Linked DNA regions of Homo sapiens: regions 2 and 3 are each linked to region 1. The links are contacts of gene promoters, found by promoter capture Hi-C in human tissues and cell types (Jung and others, 2019). All regions are on one chromosome and are shown on one strand. The core of a region is centred on a gene start or on the middle of the fragment in contact, and the rest is flanking DNA. Distances in the headings are between cores, read along the strand shown.

The links. The method cuts DNA at HindIII sites, captures the fragments that hold promoters and counts their contacts. A contact is called where the count stands out against the background at its distance.
Region 2: a contact is called between a fragment that was not itself captured here and the fragment with the promoter of IRGM in region 1, in 2 of the 25 tissues and cell types used here (H1 embryonic stem cells and aorta).
Region 3: a contact is called between a fragment that was not itself captured here and the fragment with the promoter of IRGM in region 1, in 1 of the 25 tissues and cell types used here (ovary).

The regions. Positions count from the first base shown.
Region 1 is chr5:150,845,105-150,848,013 of GRCh38, reverse strand. It overlaps IRGM (immunity related GTPase M), which reads right to left and starts at 1,493. Exons shown (of 2, transcript NM_001145805.2): 1 at 794-1,493; 2 at 1-305. RefSeq lists a silencer at 613-907. The HindIII fragment of the contact is 10,169 bases long and covers 1-2,909 here.
Region 2 is chr5:150,894,665-150,897,573 of GRCh38, reverse strand. ZNF300 (zinc finger protein 300) reads left to right here. Exons shown (of 6, transcript NM_052860.4): 6 at 601-2,909. The coding sequence ends at 2,150. It also overlaps a transcript of IRGM not described here. Among named protein-coding and RNA genes, the nearest start is that of ZNF300, 8.9 kb to the left of the region's middle. The HindIII fragment of the contact is 3,286 bases long and covers 1-2,909 here.
Region 3 is chr5:150,808,660-150,811,568 of GRCh38, reverse strand. No RefSeq gene overlaps it. Among named protein-coding and RNA genes, the nearest start is that of SMIM3, 31 kb to the right of the region's middle. The HindIII fragment of the contact is 6,969 bases long and covers 1-2,909 here.

The DNA.
Region 1 (2,909 bases), core at 244-2,743:
CTGGCCAACATCGTGAAACCTTCTCTACTAAAATACAAAAAAATTAGCTGCGCGTGGTGGTGTGCGCCTGTAGTCCCAGCTAATACAGGAGGCTGAGGCAGGGGAATCGCTTGAACCCTGGACGCAGATATTGCAGTGAGCTGAGATCACGCCATTGCACTCCAGCCTGGCAACAGAGCAAGACTCCATCTCAAAACAAACAAAACCCAATGCTTATGGTGTGGCAAAAAGAGGTTAAGGATGCAGCTAATAGAGTGTGAGGGGCACTTGGGACACTCTGTCGTATCTGTGGGCACTGGAGTAAGCTGCGGAAGTAGAAGAGCAGGTGAGTTAGGATGGACAGGGTACACATGAATCATCTGACTTTTAGCATCCCCAGCCCTCAACGAAGACTGCAGCAGACGATCTTGACTGAGTGTTCTTTGATTGTTTTTATTCAAGCAATGTGCACATTTCTTCAGGGAGCAAGAAAGGTAGGGTCCCTGAGGAACGCCCTGAGGCCGGTTGTGCCTCCGAGTCAGCCTCCAAAGCAGGCATGTGGCCATGAGATGGCTTGAAAAGCAGAGAATGAACCAAGTCTCCTGAAAAGCCCAAGAGGTTTTTGTCTTTCCCTCTTTTACTCTATCCTAATATAGGTCTGCTCCTTCACAAGTTTCAGTACATATTTCAAGACCAAAACCAGACAAGTAAAAGTGACCTATATATTTCTCTGCTGAAGATGGCGCCAGAGGACATAAAACATCCAATTCCCATTGCTTACTTGAAGCTGTGATCATCCCTGTTTAACACTTACCTCATCAGGCGGGGGAGCACACGTGCAGAGCAGTACTGAAATGCTGCAATATACGTGAAGTAAGCCACCAGCCTTTGACCCCCGAGCTTCCATTAAGACTGTCATGTTGGGCCCAACTGAAGTGAGGGAGAGGAGGAGACAGCATACTCAAATGCTCTGCTCTTTTTCAAGGCAGTGATTAGACAATTGCTTATCATTGCATTCGCCAAACCTGGCTCTTGCAGGTTCCACAAGGGGCCAGGTATTTGAGACTGATTAAAAGAAGGTGATGTGATTTCCTACTCCTACCGGAATTGGTGGGTTCTTCGTCTCACTGACTTCAAGAATGAAGCCACGGACCCTCGCGGTGAGTGTTACAATTCTTAAAGGCTGCGTGTCCGGAGTTTGTTCCTTCTGATGTTTGGATGTGTTCAGAGTTTCTTCCTTCCGGTGGGTTCGTGGTTTCACTGACTCAGGAGCGAAGCTGCAGACCTTCGAAGTGAGAGTTACAGCTCTTCAGGCGGCGAGTCTGGAGTTGTTCGTTTCTCCCCGGGGGGTTCGTTGTTTCACAGGTTTCAGGAGTGATGCTGCAGACCTTCACGGTGAGTGTTACAGCTCATAAAGGCAGTGTGGACCCAAAGAATGAGCAGCAGCAAGATTTACTGCAAAGTGCAAAAAAACAAAGCTTCCACAGCATGGAAGGGGACCTGAGCAGGTTACCACTGCTGGTTCGGGCAGCCTGCTTTTATTCTCTTATCTGGCCCACCCACATCCTGCTGATTGGTCCATTTTACAGAGAGCCGATTGGTCTGTTTTACAGAGAGCTGATTGGTCCATTTTGACAGGGTGCTGATTGGTGTGTTTACAATCCCTGAGCTAGACACAAAAGTTCTCCACCTCCCCACTAGATTAGCTAGATACAGAGTATAGATTGGTGCATTTGCAAACCTTGAGCTAGACACAGGGTGCTGATTGGTGTGTTTACAAACCTTGAGCTAGATATAGAGTGCCAATTGGTGCATTCACAATCCCTTAGCTAGACATAAAGATTCTCCAAGTCCCCACCAGATTAGCTAGGCTCAGAGTGCTGATTGGTGCATCCACAAACCCTGAGCTAGACACAGGGTGCTGATTGGTGCATTTACAATTCCTGAGCTAGACACAAAAGTTCTCCATGTCCCCACTAGATTAGCTAGATACAGAGGGTCGATTGGTGTGTTCGCAAACCCTGAGCTAGACACAGGGTGCTGATTGGTGTGTTTACAAACCTTGAGCTAGATACAGAGTGCTGATTGGTGTATTTACAATCCCTTAGCTAGACATAAATGTTGTCCAAGTCCCCACCAGACTCAGGAGCCCAGCTGGCTTCACCCAGTGGATCCTGCACCAGGCCGCAGGTGAAGCTGCCTGGCAGTCCCCGGCCATGCGCCTGCACTCTTCAGCCCTTGGGCAGTGGATGGGACTGGGCGCCGTGGAGCAGGGAGCGGCGCTCATAGGGGAGGCTCGGGCTGTGCAGGAGCCCACGGAGTGGGGCAGGGGAGAGAGGCTCAGGCATGGCGGGCTGCAGGTCCCAAGCCCTGCCCTGCGGGGAGGCAGCTAAGGCCGGGGAGAAATCCAGCACAGCAGCTGCTGGCCCAGGTGCTAAGCCCCTCACTGCCAGGGGCCATCGGGGCCGGATGGCTGCTCTGAGCGCGGGCCCGCTGAGCCCACGCCCACCCGGAACTCGTGCTGGCCCGCAAGCGACGCCCGCAGCCCCAGTTGCTGCCCGTGCCTCTCCCTCCACACCTCCCCACAAGCTGAGGGAGCCAGCTCCGGCCTTGGCCAGCCCAGAAAGGGGCTCCCACAGTGCAGCGGCGGGCTGAAGGGCTCCTCAAGTGCCACTAGAGTGGGCGCCAAGGCTGAGGAGGCTCCGAGAGCCAGCGAGGGCTGCGAGGGCTGCCAGCATGCTGTCACCTCTCACTAGCATGGCCTGGCAGGTCTGTTTCACACACTCATTGTGAACACACACAACACTGCACACAGCCACTCATACCTGGTGTGCACACTCACCCATGCCCAGCCATGTTTACTTACCCCCCCACACACACACTCTCACTCACCCTCGGCATGCACACATACACTTACTTGCATTCTGTGC
Region 2 (2,909 bases), core at 302-2,801, 50 kb before region 1:
AAAACCTTAGGGTCAGGAAGATACAGCTTTTCTGGGAGAACTTTACTAGTTTTACTTGACATGTATAGAAAGTAGTTTATTGGGAGTAGTGGAATTTACGTCTGTATTCTCAGTTTGACTCTGATACTGAATCTGTAGCAGGATATTGGATTTTTCTATTATTTGTTAGTTGTTAGGAAAATAGATGGAGGAGAGTTAAAGTATTTTGCATACAGAAGATACCTTGTTTTTTAGAGTGATGGTAGGATAATAAGAATGTGTAGCACATGATTTATAATATAAATGAAATTAAAAGGTGAAAAGGGGTTTCTATTCAGAAAGCAGAAGTGAAATATTCTAGAAGAATAATCAAAAATTAGTGATGAGACCCCACTTTTTCATCTCTTTTAAGTTTAGTTTTTACATGAATATTTCTGTTTAACATTCTTGTCTGTCTATTCACCTGATAACACTATATGCTGTACTGTCTTCTGAGATGACCTGTTTCCATCCTTTTTTTGTGAGTTCATCTACTATGTTGGATCATCCATTTGTTCTACTTCTTTACCCTCTTAATTGACTCTTGTGATGACTCTTAAATTGTATCTTTTCTTCTTTTAGACAGGAAGAGTAACCTTCACAACTCCCAGTCATGTATTTTGGGGACAGTTTCCTTCCATCATAAGATACTGAAAGGAGTCACAAGGGATGGTTCATTGTGCTCCATTTTAAAAGTCTGTCAAGGTGATGGTCAGCTGCAGAGATTTCTAGAGAATCAAGACAAACTCTTCAGGCAGGTCACATTTGTTAACAGCAAAACAGTGACTGAGGCATCAGGGCATAAATATAATCCACTGGGGAAAATATTTCAAGAGTGCATAGAAACAGATATATCAATACAGAGATTCCATAAATATGATGCTTTTAAAAAGAACTTAAAACCAAATATTGACCTACCGAGTTGTTATAAGAGCAATTCAAGAAAAAAACCTGATCAGAGTTTTGGAGGTGGAAAATCATCTAGCCAGAGTGAGCCCAATTCTAATCTTGAGAAGATTCACAATGGAGTAATACCTTTTGATGATAATCAGTGTGGAAACGTTTTTAGAAATACACAATCCCTTATTCAATATCAGAATGTGGAAACTAAAGAGAAAAGCTGTGTATGTGTTACATGTGGAAAAGCCTTTGCTAAGAAGTCACAACTCATTGTACATCAAAGAATTCATACTGGAAAGAAACCATATGATTGTGGTGCATGCGGAAAAGCCTTCAGTGAGAAGTTTCATCTTGTTGTACATCAGAGAACTCATACTGGGGAGAAACCTTATGATTGTTCTGAATGTGGAAAAGCCTTCTCTCAGAAATCGTCCCTTATTATACATCAGAGAGTTCACACTGGGGAAAAACCCTATGAATGTAGTGAATGCGGGAAAGCCTTCTCCCAGAAATCACCCCTCATTATACATCAGAGAATACATACTGGGGAAAAACCCTATGAATGTAGAGAGTGTGGGAAGGCCTTTTCCCAGAAGTCACAGCTGATTATACACCACAGAGCTCATACTGGAGAGAAGCCGTATGAGTGTACCGAATGTGGGAAAGCCTTCTGTGAGAAGTCCCACCTCATTATACATAAAAGAATTCACACTGGTGAGAAACCCTACAAATGTGCTCAATGTGAGGAAGCCTTCAGCAGGAAGACAGAACTCATTACACATCAGTTAGTTCATACTGGGGAAAAACCTTATGAATGTACTGAATGTGGAAAGACATTCTCCCGCAAGTCACAGCTCATCATACATCAGAGAACACATACTGGAGAAAAACCCTATAAATGTAGTGAATGTGGCAAAGCCTTCTGCCAGAAGTCACATCTCATTGGACATCAGAGAATTCACACAGGAGAAAAACCTTATATATGTACTGAATGTGGGAAAGCCTTCTCTCAGAAGTCCCACCTTCCGGGACACCAGCGAATTCATACAGGAGAGAAACCTTACATATGTGCTGAATGTGGAAAGGCCTTTTCTCAGAAGTCAGACCTTGTTTTACATCAGAGGATTCATACTGGGGAAAGACCCTATCAATGTGCTATATGTGGGAAGGCCTTCATCCAGAAGTCACAACTAACTGTACACCAGAGAATTCACACAGTGGTAAAATCATAATGAACTGGCCACAGAAAAGCCTTAGTATTAGCTCAAGCCTTAATAATTACTAGAAACCCAATTAATTTGATAAGCTTGGGGACAACATCCCAATAGATAAAAATTTTTAAGGGAATTTGTTTCTAGTTTGGTGATGCCTAACTTTTCCAGCAAAGATGATGGAAAATAGTTATATAAATGAAGAACATTTTTAATATGGCATGTAAAGCTTTTAAAGTTATGAACTCAGTGATCAGCACAGCAAGTTAAGCATACAGAATATTGTCAAGTTGCATATTCCTTATACTACAAAATGATAATCAGCCATTGTGAAACTGCTAATATTAGCTTGTCATAATTATGGCCATAAACTAATTTTTCTATAAAAGACGTGGAAGAAAGCTTAAGTAAACAATAAAATAAAACCTATACACTATTTTAAGAAGGGGCTTGAGCATGACCCCTAAAGCTACATGTAAAGTTCTTGTACAAAAAATGGAATGATAGGTTGATCAGATTCAGTAAAGTTGATCTGTATGCATTTTCCCATCTCAAGCATATAAGTTGACCTGCATCTCTGGAAGGACCTTGAGATTGATGCATTTTGAGCAGGTCTCCCTTTTACTCTTCCCAACTGGGAACTTGGAGCTGAAAAACATTGGCACTGAGGCCAGATGGCCTTGGGTTTAATCCTGGCTCAGTGCCTCACAGATTGTGTGACTTTAGGCAAACATACTTCTCCTAGCTGAGTATTTTTTATCAGTAAGTACAAATACAATG
Region 3 (2,909 bases), core at 225-2,724, 36 kb after region 1:
TTAGTACAATTTAGAGTAGTTAGATTAAGCAGGAAACTTACCAAGTTACTGTAAAACTGACAATTAAATAATAATAGCTGTTAACTAAGTTTAGAAAGCCAGCCTCTTCTAAGTAATTACTCAGGTTTTCCTTTTAGAAACTGGTTCCTTTTAGAAACTGGGTCACCATTATTTAACAAAAGGCAAACAGCGTAAGAAATCTTCCTTCTTATATGTCTTTTTCTAAATTATGGAAAGGCTTATTGAAAGTGATTCACAGGCCAGGCGCGGTGGCTCATGCCTGTAATCCCAGCATTTTGGAAGGCCAAGGCGGGTGGATCACCTGAGGTCAGGAGTTCGAGACCAGCCTGACCAAGACTGTGAAACGCTGTCTCTACTAAAAATACAAAAATTAGCCAGGTGTAGTGGAGCATGTTTGTAATCCCAGCTACTCAGGAGGCTGAGACAGGAGAATCGCTTGAACCTGGGAGGCAAAGGTCACAGTGAGCTGAGATTGCACCATTGCACTCCAGCCTGGGAGACAGACTGAGTCTCCATCTCAAAAAAATAAAAAAAAAGAAAAGAAAAGAAAGTGATTCACTGTGTAGTTTAAAGTTTAAAAGTTTAACCCTTAGAACATGCTTTAAAACACAGAGAAAAGAAATAAAATTATGAAATGAAATGGTATAAATTATAAAGTACCTTTTGAAATCCTTAATGCCGTAATTAAAGAGAAAACATTTTCTTTATGTACAATCTTTTCAAAATATGTAATTAGCAAATTAATACTGCCTCATCTATCTTGGGCTTGTAATTGAGACATCTGACAATTATATCCCCAAAAAATTTATACACTACCAATTCTATGATTATTGCCTTTGAAAATTAACCACTTTTTCTATGAATCACACATACACAGCTTCCAAGTGGAACATTGGTTTATAGTCAGCAAGACAACATCCAGTCCTGGATCTGCCACTTACTGGCTGTGGAGTCTGGCAAGTGACAACTTCTTTCATCTTGACTGCTTCAATTAGTAAAATGTAATCAAGTTCATTATGTCACTAAAATGAGATAATACAGAGCTTGATAAATAGTACTCAGCAAATACTAACTTGAAAATAAAATGATAACTTCTCTTTTATCCTTTCCTTGTTCAGATCAATCCAAAGGCCACTAAGTGGCAAGAGAAATGAATATGGCAAGGATAGGGGGAATCCTGTGGTTACCCAAATCAGAGTGCTAAAGCCCAGGCAAGGTGAGGATGCTGGACTAGTTAGGGGTAATGGAGCTCAAGTAGAGCAAGAAGAACATCAACGAGAGGAGAAGCCTGGTGTGGGATATTGAAGCCCAAGCAGGTAGGGAAAGCATTGCACAGGGAGTGTGGGATGCAGCAGCAATGACAGACTGGTGACATACAGAAGGCTTGATCAAAAATATATCAAGACTTCTCACTATTGGAGAAGGAAGTTTCAAATATAGAAGGAGAGAAAACATGAATGAGCCCTGTGCTGTTAGATTGGAATTGGAGATATCAAAGTGAACCCATGGTTTTCAATAGGGATATAGAAGTATAGGTGTAAAAATGTGCTTATGTATGTATATAAGTATATATATATATTAACTAGCTCTGTCCATTGAAAACAGGAAGTAACAAGCCCTCAGTAACAATGAGCACACCTGGTTCTGACATCTTTTCTGAAGACCATACTCCAAAACAGGATCCAAGTCTCCTTGGAGAAATGGCTGATCCCAAGTCTAGGGCAGGGAAACTATAAGATGAGCCTGGGACATCTTTGCCAGGAAGTAAAGAAGCACTGAAAGACTTATGAGAACATATCAAAAAGACTCTTGAAAGAGTTCTCACTTGGGGCGGTCTGACCCGCAGACCCTGAGCCAGCCATGGATGAATGAAGTACACTGACACACAGATATTCTGCTTTGCCAGTCCAGCTGAGTGTCCAAGCCACTTACAGACTCCCTGGAGAGTACTGTAAACAGTTGTGACTGTGGCCCTGACCAGCTAGTGAGACTCACATTTATTTGGGGAAGATTAATTGACAAAGGCTTGAGTCAACACCACTAGAGGGTAATTGACACTGTGGAATTCCCAAGTAGAAAGCAATTAAGCACCTGCCGTACATCAAAGGTTAGTCTTAAGACCACATGAGTAAACAAGCTAGCTAGATAACTTCCCCACATTCCTTAGTTACTACTTTAACTTATTTAACTAAAGGTAAAGGGACCAGGCCGCCTTCAGCCAGATCTATTACTGATGTTATACAAACTCTCAGGCCTTCCAAGAGAGTTTGTGGCTATTACTATAACTATCTTTAATATTTTTCCCACCAGCCTTATTGAACCCCCACACTGAGCATCAAACTAAATAATGAAAGCAACTGGTTTTAACCTACTGAATAAAATAGGAACCCATGAGTCCACACTGAAATAAATAAATGAATGGACAAATTGAAAGTCTGATGAGGAACAGGATATTTGCATAGTCTCAAAGTACCACCTTACAAAATATTTATTAATTACAAAGGGAAGAAAGAGTAACTTTACAGTGGAGAAGTCTAGCAGACACCAATCAGTGACCAAAGTTAACATCACCAGTAATGAGGTGAATCAAAATTGTCACCATTGCTATGATATTCCTATCAAAGATGCAAACCTAAATCTATTCATAAGAAAACATTAGGTGAACTCAAATTGAGAGCTATTCTACAAAATAATTGGCCTGTAATCTTCAAAAGTGTTAAGGTCATAAAGGCCAAGAAAGACTAGGGAACTGTTCCACATTGAAGAAAACCAAACAGATATGACAACAAAATGAAACACATGACGCTGAACTGGATCCCTTTGCTATGAAGGACATCATTGAGAAAATTGAGGAAACTTGAAAGAATTTGAGGATTATATGGTAGTAA